Linked DNA regions of Homo sapiens: region 2 is linked to region 1. Evidence: promoter capture Hi-C in 16 types of primary human blood cells and fetal thymus (Javierre and others, 2016). All regions are on one chromosome and are shown on one strand. The core of a region is centred on a gene start or on the middle of the fragment in contact, and the rest is flanking DNA. Distances in the headings are between cores, read along the strand shown. Region 1 holds the start of FBXO8 (F-box protein 8). Region 2 has its middle 15 kb from the start of SPCS3-AS1.

The links. The method cuts DNA at HindIII sites, captures the fragments that hold promoters and counts their contacts. A CHiCAGO score of 5 or more calls a contact.
Region 2: a fragment that was not itself captured here is called in contact with the fragment with the promoter of FBXO8 in region 1 in 9 of 17 cell types (non-activated CD4 T cells, total CD8 T cells, naive CD8 T cells and 6 more); the score reaches 17.6 in non-activated CD4 T cells.

What each region holds. Positions count from the first base shown.
Region 1 is chr4:174,280,427-174,286,660 of GRCh38, reverse strand. It overlaps FBXO8 (F-box protein 8), which reads left to right and starts at 2,994. Exons shown (of 6, transcript NM_012180.3): 1 at 2,994-3,251. CEP44 (centrosomal protein 44) reads right to left here and starts at 2,750. Exons shown (of 12, transcript NM_001040157.3): 1 at 2,718-2,750. RefSeq lists a silencer at 2,518-2,785 and an enhancer at 2,550-2,799. The HindIII fragment of the contact is 4,999 bases long and covers 419-5,417 here.
Region 2 is chr4:176,332,741-176,338,974 of GRCh38, reverse strand. No RefSeq gene overlaps it. Among named protein-coding and RNA genes, the nearest start is that of SPCS3-AS1, 15 kb to the right of the region's middle. The HindIII fragment of the contact is 4,185 bases long and covers 1,755-5,939 here.

The DNA.
Region 1 (6,234 bases), core at 1,745-4,244:
ATAAATAGGTATATAAACGATTAAGAACCTTTGCTGGAAGGAGGTAAGTTTCTGAACTATAAAAGTCTAGTCAGCCAGTAACGTGAAACTCAATAACTTACATAAAAACATCTACCACAACTGTCCATGGACACTTCATAGAAGAAAAGTAATACATAACAATACCTTGAGTAATGAACCCTTTGAGAATGAAGCTCCTTTAAAATGAAGTTATCACATTAAAATGAAGTCATTATATTAAAATGAAAACAGAACAATTCATAAATCAGGTGAAGCTGGGTTAGTGTGATCTTTTCCTCCAATTCGCATTACCCAGCTGTCCAGGATACAAATCATCCCTTTACACACCGTTTCTCTATCTTTAAATAAGGAAAGGTAAGAAGGTCACCGATTTACAAAATCCTAAATTTAGTAAGCTTCCTACTTTAAGCCCCTCGCCACTCATTTCCACAGCCATTTCCCCAGGGTAGAGCAACTGCTCCCTCTTTATGAACCTACCTTTCTGTTCCTAGTCTCCTTTATCAACATGGTAGGCAACAGCTTATTGAATATACTTTATAGACTTGTGCATGCACATTTTAGTCACTATTTTTCAGCCAATAAATTACTTCAACTAAACATTTACATTTCTAGACAGAGATAATTTTAGGTACTGTCAAATGGGAGATAACTAGAAAAAGAGAAAGTCATCCTGAAATCACATTATACAAAACACTGGCCAAGAAGGTAAACCCTATTTAATATCCTTTAGACTGACTGGGGGTAGATGGACACACGGAAGCCTAAAAGGGATTTCCCAAGATAAGCCTTTACTTTCCTGAAAAACATGAAGTGAGGACTACTCTGGCTTTAACCGCAAAAAATGTATTCTTGGATTTTGCCACTGGCCAATATAGTAGGTCTGAGCTTCTTTCGGGTTCCAGACCCATCTATCGTAACACAATTCTTCTAGGGATACCTTCTTCCCAGTAACTTTAATGTAAATTCTATGTCTTTCCAGACTTCCTTTAGTCCTTCCAGATGTATATTCCATTTTCCCAGTGCAAGTAATTCTGTTTTACGTAACACTTTATGATATCTTCTCACCTTTCCTTTTTCTGACATTTTGGAAAACATTTCAGTGTCTCTTACATGATTTCTACCTCTGATAATGGAATTTCTGACAACAAAGTTATGTCTCTCTTCAGTACCAGTGAATAAATATTTTGAAGAGTAATACAAGCAGAGCTCGTGAACGAGGTAAGTGATAGGAGACAGAAAAATAAAGGGATTTAAAATTGGGATTATCACAGAATAAAATTACAGCTACTGCTCTACATTCTCACAAAGGGCTTTACTAAGTCTACTATAAAATTCAAAAGCCTTAAAAACAAGACATTAAAAGAAGCCAATCTATTACTTATGTACATTTTAACACCTTACTTTCATTAATGAAAAATACTTTTAAAAATTTAACATTTTCAACTTATAGCACTGATCAAAGGCAAACTAAGGAAAAAAGGAGATACCACTCAGCTTGCAGCATAGATTCAATAATAAAGAAGCTCTCAATATTCCTTTCTAGCTTCCTTCCTTGTCTACAAGTCAGATCTGCGCAATTGAACTTGTGGGAGAGGTTGTGAAAATAGTGTACTCTAGCAGTTTAGGATTTTCAACATCGCTCAATCTCATTGCTGTTAGAGGTCATTAAAACAATGCCTCCCAATAGAATGTCACTGGACCAGAGTGATTTTTGTTTAGAATGAAGCAACTACACTGACTCTAATAACAGTCAATGGCTAAGAGTTTGTGACATAGCACATAATGCTCGATATTATCTAAAAACACGTATCAAAAACAAAAAAGTAAAGATGAGAAAAACAGTTTATGAAACTGCAAAAGATATTAGGGAAATACTTCTCTAAGAGATAGGAGAAAGGTCTGAGAAAGGCAAAGCATCGAGAAAGCTGGGCGGGAGTGGGGAGGAGTAAGGGACAAGTAAAGAGTTCAACGGGACTGCTGTGTTCACACATAAAATTAAAAGGTCTGCAGATAATTCGGGAAAAAAACAGTCTAGCATGGCCATAATTCCAGAGTAAAAGAGAATAACAACTTCAAGATTAACTTGTTACAGTGAGGGAAAAATCTGTAGCCTTCAATAAAGGTGGAGAAATATTTGAAAAGCTGGGGAAATGCCAACAAGGAAAACACGAACTGCTGTCCTGTCTTCCTTATAGTCAGGAGCCGTTTGTATCCTCACCCCAGAGGATCCAATAGGAATCAGTAAGCCTATAACTTTCCAACCCTAAGTCACAACCTAATTCTGATAGGATGAGCTACCACGATACTTCCCACTTCGTTGTGACTAAAAGCATATACTAGTTGGGTATATAAGCAAGGCTCCCCTCCCGCCATTTGATTTAAAAGAATGAAAAGGCGGATCTGGTCATTCGTCTCCGCCCGGGGTCTCTGTAAGGACGGCGGAGAGAGGCGACCTCCGCCCAATACCAGGCGCAGCCTTGCCGTCTCCTCGGGGCTCACCAAGCAGCCACCAGCAAAGAAGCCGGTTTCAAAGGCCCAGCACGACAGGGAGAGGAAAACGGAGCATATGCAACCATACACAGTCACCAGAGTCCAGCCTCCCGCAACCAGTCGCTACAGCCAGGCGCCTGCGCCCAGAAGCGCTTCTCGCGCCGACCGTTTGTATTTGGAATTGTGGGTTCCTGCCCGCCACGCACCACCGCAAGACCTTCAAAGCTGGGAGCTTCTCTGTGCTCCAGGATTCCTCGCTGCCGATTCCACACCGCGTTCAAGACTCCTGTGAAGAGCGACTCCGCTGAGAGCCTCCTCAATGGCCAGTCCACTTCTAACTTGCAGCTGAGAAGTTTTTCTGATCTTGATGGTCAGAGTGGCTCGTGCTACGAAGTGAGAAACAAGGAATCTATAGCGAATCGTAAACAACAGAAATAAAAATGCGTCTCCGTTAAGAGTCGGAGCCTAACGTCACTTCCGGCAACAATAGGAAACGTCAAAATTGGGATAGTCGGCAGTTCTGGCCCCTGCAGCTGGAGGTACCCTGAGTTCTGAGGGTCGTAGTGCTGTTTCTGGTATTCTCATCGCGGTCACCTCTACCGGTGTGGACAAGTAAAGTTTGAATCAGCTTCTCCATGGCCTGGGCACCAGTTCCCGGCTGAGCCATTTTCCTTTTGGCTAAAAGTCCCCGCCCAGAGGCCAATTCGTCGCGGCGGCGGTGGAGATCGCAGGTCGCTCAGGTACAGGAGTCAACCTAGATATTTTAGATCTCTTGTCTCTTTTCCCTGTTCACCTTCACTTTTCTCGAAAATAAAGACAACCAGTGCTTGCCAGTTGGCCGAAACTGGCCGACCAGCAAGAGTTTGCGACCAATGACAGTGCGAAGCATCTTGAGTGACAGTAGTGGTGGCTCATTAAAGTGAGGAATCACTGTCAGGAGGCGGAACTGGGTGTGTTCCTTCTGTTTCTAGGCCATTGGGGTGTAGTTCGGTTTAGGACTCCAAGTAGTAACCCAGCGTCATTGTGAAATAAACCTGAGAAATGACAAGGGTTACTTTCTTCAGGTCCAAGTGTTGGTTTTCGGGTCGAGTGTTATTTTGGTTCCTAGACAGTTTTTGGTTCTTTACCACTTTCCAGTAATATGAATGCAAACACAAGTATAGTTAAGATCACGATGGATTGCTAGCTGCTACAGTAGTCAAACTTGGGTTATAAAACTTGTCAAACTTGTCTTTTATTTGTTTCTCAGCGACTGGGTTCTAATCTCTTACGTAGAAGGTTCTCAATATTTATTTGGCAAAATCACATAAATGGATCCCAATCCTCAGTCATTTAATTTTTTTAGTTTTATTTTTAGGTTCTGTATGAATTTACTAATAAAATAATTGATTCTACTTGTTTTACAAGTAAAATATTCATTTTCAAGGCTCCTAGGTGTATATCCACAAATGAATATATCATGATTTTTATTACGGTAAAGTGAAGACAATTTATGTTTTCTATTTCAGCTTTCCTCTTCCTTCTTTTAATGTTTGAAGTAATGTATTTCTGAGGTAGGAGCTCTACACACTTCTCAACTCTACCCTTCACGAAAATGATATGTGAAACAGAGTAGGTTTCAGAATAAAGAATGCATAAGTTTTATTATTTTTTTCATATTGGGTCAGAAATTCATCTTTAGCCAATTAACCTGACAATATGTCTGATGAGGTACTTCATTAGTTGTCTATTGCTGGGTAACAAATTACCCCCAAATTTACCCCAGCTTAAAACAACAAATATTATCAGTTTCTGTACATCAGGAATTAGGGTGCAGCGTAACTTCATTTAATAATAAGTTACAGCAAATTAACTAATATTACTTGGGGCCCTTGGATCAATTACTTCCATCCACAAAATATTATAGTAACTTCTAGATAAGCCAAAACATTGATCATAATTTATTACATATGGTCACTTTAATGGGGAATGTTTTGTGTGTTTACTGTTGCTAGGTTAAAAGATATCTTCCTCATTTTACAATATAAAAACATTGAATTACCAAATCTTTAATCACAGTGTGTTGAAATTAGTCATTCAGATTTGTAACTTTATGGTTTATTATTTAACCAACTGCTAATGTACAACTAATTTTTTCCTCATTTTGATTCAGATTTGGAAACTGGCACTATTCCATTGACTGACCCATGATAATGCATCAAAATCATTAATACTAAAGTCTAAGAATTATGCATTTAATTTCTGTTTCTTTTTCTTGAATTATTTTACTTAAATAATTTTTTAAACAATTTAAATGAAATACATCTATTTCTGGAAATTTATGTTCACTATTTCTTTTTCGTTTTGCTCTCATTGTTTTGTTTTTCTGACAAATTTCTTGACTTAGCTCTCTAATAAACTAAAACATTTTTGGCTGACTTGAATAAATTTATATCATATTTGGGGCAAGTATTTTTTTGAGACAGATTTTTATTCTGTTGCCCAGGCTGGAGTGCAGTGGTGCGAACAAGACTCACTGTAGCCTTGACCTCCTAGGTTCAAGCAATTCTCCCTCCCACCTCAGCCTTCAGAGTACCTGGGACCACAGGCACACGCCATCACGTGTGGTTATTTCTTTTAATTTTTTTGTCTGACTGTGCTGCCCAGGCTGGTCTTGAAGTCCTGAGCTCAAGCGATCCTCCTTCCACAGCCTCCCAAGGTTCAGGAATCATAGGTGTGAGCCACTGTGCTGGTGCAAGTACTTTATAGCAATATAAGATAAAAATATTTGTGGTTTGGAGTTTAGGCAACAGCTTTAGGGAGTTTAACCATTTAGTCAGCAGTTCGTGTATTTTTCAAGAATAGATTGCATAGGATTCATAAGCTATTTGAATGAAGGAACCAGATTTTAGCAAGTAAGCCAAGCTTGGAGAGACTCTATATGGAGTAGTGATTTGTGGAAGTCATGAATATAGGGAAAAAAGAGATGGAAAGGACAGATGTTAAATACACACACACGCACGCCATCATCTCTTCTTTTATTTATTAATTTGTTTTTCAGAGTTTTTTCCCTCATTTTATTTTTATGGGATCACAGAATTGTTTCTTCCAATTTTTAAATTGTAGTAAAATATACGTAACATAAAATTTACCATCTTAACCATTCTAAGTGTACAGTTCAATGGTATTAATTACATTGATAATGTTGTGCCACCATCAACACCATCTATCTTCATTACTCTTTTTATCTTGTAAAACTGAAACTCTATACCTATTAAACAATAATTCCCCTTCCCCATTCCTAGGTCCTAGCAATCACCATTCTACCTTTTGTTTCCAGTTTTGGAAACCGGAAGTGTTTGTATTCATATTACTGGAAAGTGGTAAAGAACCAAAACCTCATATAAATGGGCTTATCCAGTATTTGACTTTTTTTGACTGGCTTATTTAACTTGGCATAATGTCCTCAAGGTTCATCTTTGTTGTAGCATATGCCAGAATTTCTCTTCTTTTTAAGGTCACATAACATTCCCTTATATGTGTCAGCCACATTTTGCTTATCCATTCATCTGTTATTGGACACCTGGGTTGCTTCCATGTTTTAGCTGTTGTGAATAATGCTGCTATGAACATGGGTGAACAAATATCTTTTCCAGACCCTGCTTTGAATTCTTGAGGGTATATACCTGAAAGTGGAATTGCTAGATCACATGGTAATTCTGTTTTTAATTTTTTTTTAGGAAG
Region 2 (6,234 bases), core at 2,598-5,097, 2.1 Mb before region 1:
TAAAGGCCTTTAAACAATATAGTCTCCTTACCATCCATGACCCTTTTCAAAACTGAAATTATTGTTAGACTACTTCCCAGAAATGTATTTCTAGTTAGTAGGGATGGGTAGACAAAGGAAAAATCTTAGAACCTGTCAATGGTTTTATAGGATCATTTCACTATGGGAAAGATCATCAAAGATTGTTAAGTAGACAAACGACCAATGGAGTTATTAATATAATGCACTGATTTCAAGTTAAAATTAAAATAAAGAACTTGCTAGAAAAAAAAAAGATGCTGAGCAAATATTTAATTGAATTTCTTGATTTACAATCAAGTGCAAAGAGCTGGTCGGTGGCCAGTGAACTATCCGTCTTTAAGTTAAAGTTATAAATCATTTTGGATTTTGGGTTCCTCATCTCTTTAGGGGATTAGGCTCCTGATTAGGTTTGTTACACATTTGCTTTGACCATTGTCACTGCCTGGATACTGACCCATATCCTTGCTGTCACAGTAGAGGATTCCGTATTTTTCTTAGCTTTCCTAAAGGCAGTGACATTGTTGAAAATTTCCAGAGCCCTGTGCTCCCAGGAAAAAGCAATGGTTTTAAAAAAAAACCTTTTATGTTGTGAGAAACAGTTAACTTCAAGGAACCACCTCCCTTGGCATATCCAAGAACTGACCCCCCCCATCCTTCCCCTTGACTCCCTTGTTTACCTGCCTCTATAAAACCCCAAGCCTCCTTCATTTCTTTGACACATTCTGCTGCAGAAATGAAAATTCTCCCTATTATAATATCTAAAGCAAAATTATCTTTATTGCCTGGTGCATTTTGTCTTTCACGCCAACTTCCATTCAAAGCTTTATTATTTGTTTTCTCTGGCCCTTTTTAGGCCACATGGTTAAAATGAGGGTATATTTTCCTATACGCTTCAAGATCATTAAGAAATTAATCTATATGATTGAGCTAAGAAATTGATTTTTTTCTATTCTTACCAGAAAAATACTAAGTCTGTTGTTCAGAGAACATCTGTCTCCTACACCAAAGATACTGAAGAAAGACTCATTGTTCTGAACAAGGTAAAAGAATTATTCAATTTGCTCTACAATTATCTGTAAAAAAAAAAAATACATATGACTTTGCAAAGAGACTTTAATGTTTGTGTTCCGTTCGGTTCTGTTTCCTCAACTCTGCTACATTTCACAGAAATAACAAAAACCTGCTATGTACTAAAAATGCTGGGAAGTCCTTTCCCATACATATTTTTTTGCTCACAGCAATTCTAAAAGAAAGGTATTCTCATTCCCATGTTTCTGAGGAAGAAGCACAGTCTGTATGGAGGAGAGTTCAGGCTCTAGTGCAGGTGCCAGGCTTTGAATATTGGCTTTACCACTACCTACCATACTGACCTGGAGCAAGTTACTCACCTATCTTGATCTCAGCTTCTTTTTCTTTAAAATGGGAATGATAATAGTACCTACCTCGTAGGGTTGTTGTTAGCATTCAGTTTAATATATGCAAAGCACACATAATAATGCCAGGCACAAACAATGAATATCAAACATAAGGCTTAGACAACTTACTCTAGTGAGCATTGCTTAGCCAATTTCACATTGCTAGAAAGTGGCTATACCAGAATCCAAACCCAGATATTGCTGACTTCAAAACTAAGACACTTTCTATTTCATAACACTGAAGAAGCTGGGAGAAAGGTTAAAAGAGCATTATTGAATGAAAGAAAAGCCTGATACATTTGATTATATTAAGAAGCTTGATTGATCAAAAGGAACCATGAAAAAGTGAAGGGGTAAGCTAGAAGACTCAAACTGAGAGTATACAAAGAAATCCTACAAATCAATAAGACAAATAGAAAATGGGCAAAATTTGAACAGGCACCTTACAAAAGAAATCCAAATGAACAATAAACATGAATAGAAGTTTCTCATTTTAGCAAACAGAGAAATATAATTTACAACCAAAATAAGATACCATTGGTTATTCACCAGCTTGGCAAAAACTAAAGTCTGCAAACCCAAATTTAGGCAAAGAGAACTCACACTTGGAAAAACCACTTTGGGAAAGTTTGGTAATATATAGTAAAGATGTTGATATGAATTCCATAAGACTTAGGAATTTCCAATCTTAGGTGTGTATGCTAGAGCAGTGGTCTTCGATTAGGAGGAACATGGAACTTTGTGCATGGTGACAGACAGCTGTATGGAAATCAGCTCTGCTCTCACACGTACTTCTAAAGTGATCTGGCTGGTAATGCGCCCAGGCTTGAGGTTCTTTCCCTCCATCATCCCTTTCACAAAGAAAGCCTCACCTCATCCAGAATCTTGCTATGGTGCACTGCCACAAGGCATCAAACCTTGGGGACAAAGAAATAATTTAATAATTCCCTTAATGAAAGCAACATAAATTATCCCCTCCCATATCTAATTCCATCTCATCAAGAGTTACGATTATCTATCACATTTCTAATATACTTCTTGTTTTGATCAACTGTGTACTATTGATAACTGCAGAATTAACTTACTCCAGAATAACTTTTACACCCTTAGAACTTAGAATATTGGGGTCAGAGGAAATTGTAAAAGATAAATTTCAATTTACATGCACATTTTTGTTACAAAGAAATGTGGTACAGTTATTAATAAAAGACTTGAAAATAGCACTCTCTAGAGTATTACCCATTAGGACAAAATTTTGCTAGAGGCATGTAAATATAATTTGAAAAAGAAATGATAAGAACTTTGACCACTAAGGAAGAATTTGTTCATTAGAAAATGAATGATTCTATCAAATCATATAAATACCATATTCCACTGGATACATTTAGATACATTTTTAAAGTAATGCAAAAAAAAGTAATGTGCAGTTGGTACTTTAAAATGTTAATACTTGCAATGTGCCAAAAATTACATTCTATGACAAGATGAAAATTTTTCAGTATTTAAGAAAGTTTAAAAAAAATCTTTGATGTGCTACACAAGCAACAAAATGTGAAGATCCCTTTCCTAGAGAAACACATACACCAGGCTACCTGTACAAGAACATTCAGAGCACATGTCTGTCAACAGAACAGGTAAATAAATTATGCCTACTCCGGATGCCTACTATGGATGACTATATTACAATGAATTACTGCCTAACAATGAAAATGAACTACACCTTCACACAAAAACATAAATGATTCTCTTAAAGTTAATGCTAAGCCAAAGCAGCAAGACCAAAAATTCTTATGGTAAGATTACATTTATGTTCATAACCAAACCAAACCAAACTGTATCGCTTAGGAATGTGTGATAGCTTATATTACATTTCTAAGAATTCCCTCCTCCTTTCCTGTAAGAGTATTACTCAGTGCCATGTGACTTGTGCTCTTTCCCTATGGAATCTAGCTCCCCAACCCTTCAACTCCTTGGCTTTGCCATGTGACATACTTGAGTCAATTAAAGGAGTAGACTGATGCTCATCACCTTCAATCAGAGGCTCCAAGAGTTTCCAACAGTTCTAACTGCCCTTTGGAATCCCAAAAGGAACTTTTCTCTCAATGTGGAATCTGGAATGAAGAGATGTGAGGAGTATATCCTAAGCCCCTATTGATGCAAGAAATACACATTTGTTTTTGTAAGCCACTGAGATGTTCCTATTGTCCATGATGGCAGTAAAGCTGATAGGATGCAACAGAGGTAGTAAACTTTTCAAGCAAGGCAAGAAAATGGCTAACACAAAACTGAAGACCGCAGAAAGGTAACAGGTTGTGATCCAGAAGAAGTATAGGGAGGGAGGCATGGAGTAATAGTATTGTTCCAACTGCTGATCTGAGTAGTAGTTACAAAGGCACATGCTTTATATTATTCAGTAAACTATATACAAATATCTCATAAACTTTTCCACATTTCCTTTTTTCCATTACAAATGTAAAAAAAAAGGTGAAAGACATTAATTCACAAGGACTTATGAATGTCCTTAGCCTAATACTTTTCAAATATAAGTTACTCCATATACCTCCCTTTACCATTAATGTTAAACATTTATCACTGAGATACTACTAGGAGATAGATTACATTTTACAGTAAAAACCCAGTTCATTTATCCTCTGAAAATCTGTCATGGAATGTCCTGAAATGCCTACCTTACATGAGACAAAACACCTGTGTAAGCCAATATAACTAAAATTAATCACACATTTTTTGCTTTTAATTCAATTTACTCAGTAAATATGTAGTGTCTTATAGTAAAATGAACAAGATAAACATAGCCTTCTTGCTCATGAAACTGACAAACATGAAACATATATATATGTATATATGTGTGTGTGTGTGTGTGTGTGTGTGTGTGTGTGTATATATATATTCCCAAGGGCAGCAAGAGCTATAAATGCTGCTGCAAAGTAAGGAAATAATGTTCCAGGAAAAAAAAATTAAGTACTGGATGATTAGGCTAGAGATTAGATCAGGTAACTCATGCCTGATAAGTGCTTTAAAATCTAACCCTTAACATCTAATATGCTCACCTTCAGAAAATCCTTAATGCACTACAGACAAGACACAAAAAGATAAATAAATGTTGACTATAATAAACTGGTATTCCCTGCTGGGATACAACAGGGGCTGGTCAGCTTAAGCTGGTGAGCATAAGCAGAAAGTGATAGAATGACTATGTGAGAAAGATTTATGCTTCCCATCCACCACATAGTTGTTCCTGAGAAGTGATTACCCAACTAAAGATTGTACTTCCCAGATGCCCCTTGCTTATCTGCACAGGGACGTGCAATTCGTTTTCACCCTTGGAATGCGAGTTGGTGGTGTGATACTCTGGGCGAAGCTAATTAAGCAGGTGGGCCTTCTCCACTCTTTTCCTCAACCCCAGACTGCCAACTTCAAGTGAGGTCTTGTCAACCCTGGGGCGGCAGTCACAAGCTGGAAGACACCTGGGTCCTTCAGTCACACCATGTGGAAAGCTGCCTCAATACCCACATTGGTTCCTTGTAAAAACGAGAAATAAACTTTTGTTTTCTTTTGAGATGGAGTCTCACTCTGTAGCCCAGGCTGGAGTGCAGTGGAGCTCTTGGTTCACTGCAACTTCCGCCTCCCAGGTCCAGGTTCAAGCAGTTCTCCTGCCTCAGCCTCCCCAGTAGCTGGGATTACAGGCACATGCCACCATGCCCAGCTAATCTTTGTATTTTTAGTAGAGATGGGGTTTCACCATGTTGGCTAGGCTAGTCTTGAACTCCTGATGTCGTGATCTATCCCCCTCAGCCTCCCAAAGTGCTGGGATTATAGGCGTGAGCCACCGTGCCCAAACTTTTTCTTATGCTACCAAAAGTTTGATGTCACCTATCATAGCACTTGGTGTTATTTTAACTAACAGAATGTTTAATCAGACTTTCAAATGTTGAGATGAGGGCAAGAGTCAGGTAGCAATCAATCTCTCTCTTAATCTCAATTAAGTGTGATTCCCAGTTAGACTTTTAGTCATCCTGGGTTGTCGGTGCACGTGCAGAGAATTAACAGCATTTAGAGATTCTTAAAGCAGCAGCAGAGGCTGCACAGTTGGATAAGCCATGGATTTCTCAAATAAATTTGAGCGAGACCCACACAACCTTGAGCAGACTTATAAGATGAATTTGTTTCAGATTCCTCAGCGCATGTCAGAACCCACTTCCTCCCCACTCACATCTGTTAGATTCCTTCCCACCCTTTGTACTCACTCACTAGGGAGCTTGCAGCCATTCCAAGCCACTCACGAGCAAGCATAGGGCTTAGGAGCACAAACATGGTACTTTTTAGAAGAAATGCACAGAGGCTTTGTCTCCAGTATAGTACTAATCAGTCCCTTTACTTCTCAACTCTTAGGTGCCTATTTCCAACTATACTCAACAGATACACAAGTGGAATGTGTATAAATTATGCACATGAAAAGGGAACACTTCAAAGCTCCTTCAAGCTTGAGGTTTATTTGGATATAAAGGTATACTTATTAAAGTGGTAAGTTTTCTTTTGGTCATGGCAACTCATTAATCAGGCAACAATTTACTGAACTCCGAATTCTTAACACTTCACTGGGAGAGAGGGAAAAGGACAAGAGAGTATGAGGAAAAACGTTTAAAAGAGAAAGTTCTGGTATACACTTGCCCAGGTTGAGAGAAAACAAAATAAAATGTAGCTGACCTCTTTTATCATTCCTGGTAACATACACTTAGGTTAAAATCCCTTACCCTCTAAATGCAATGATTTTCTGTTG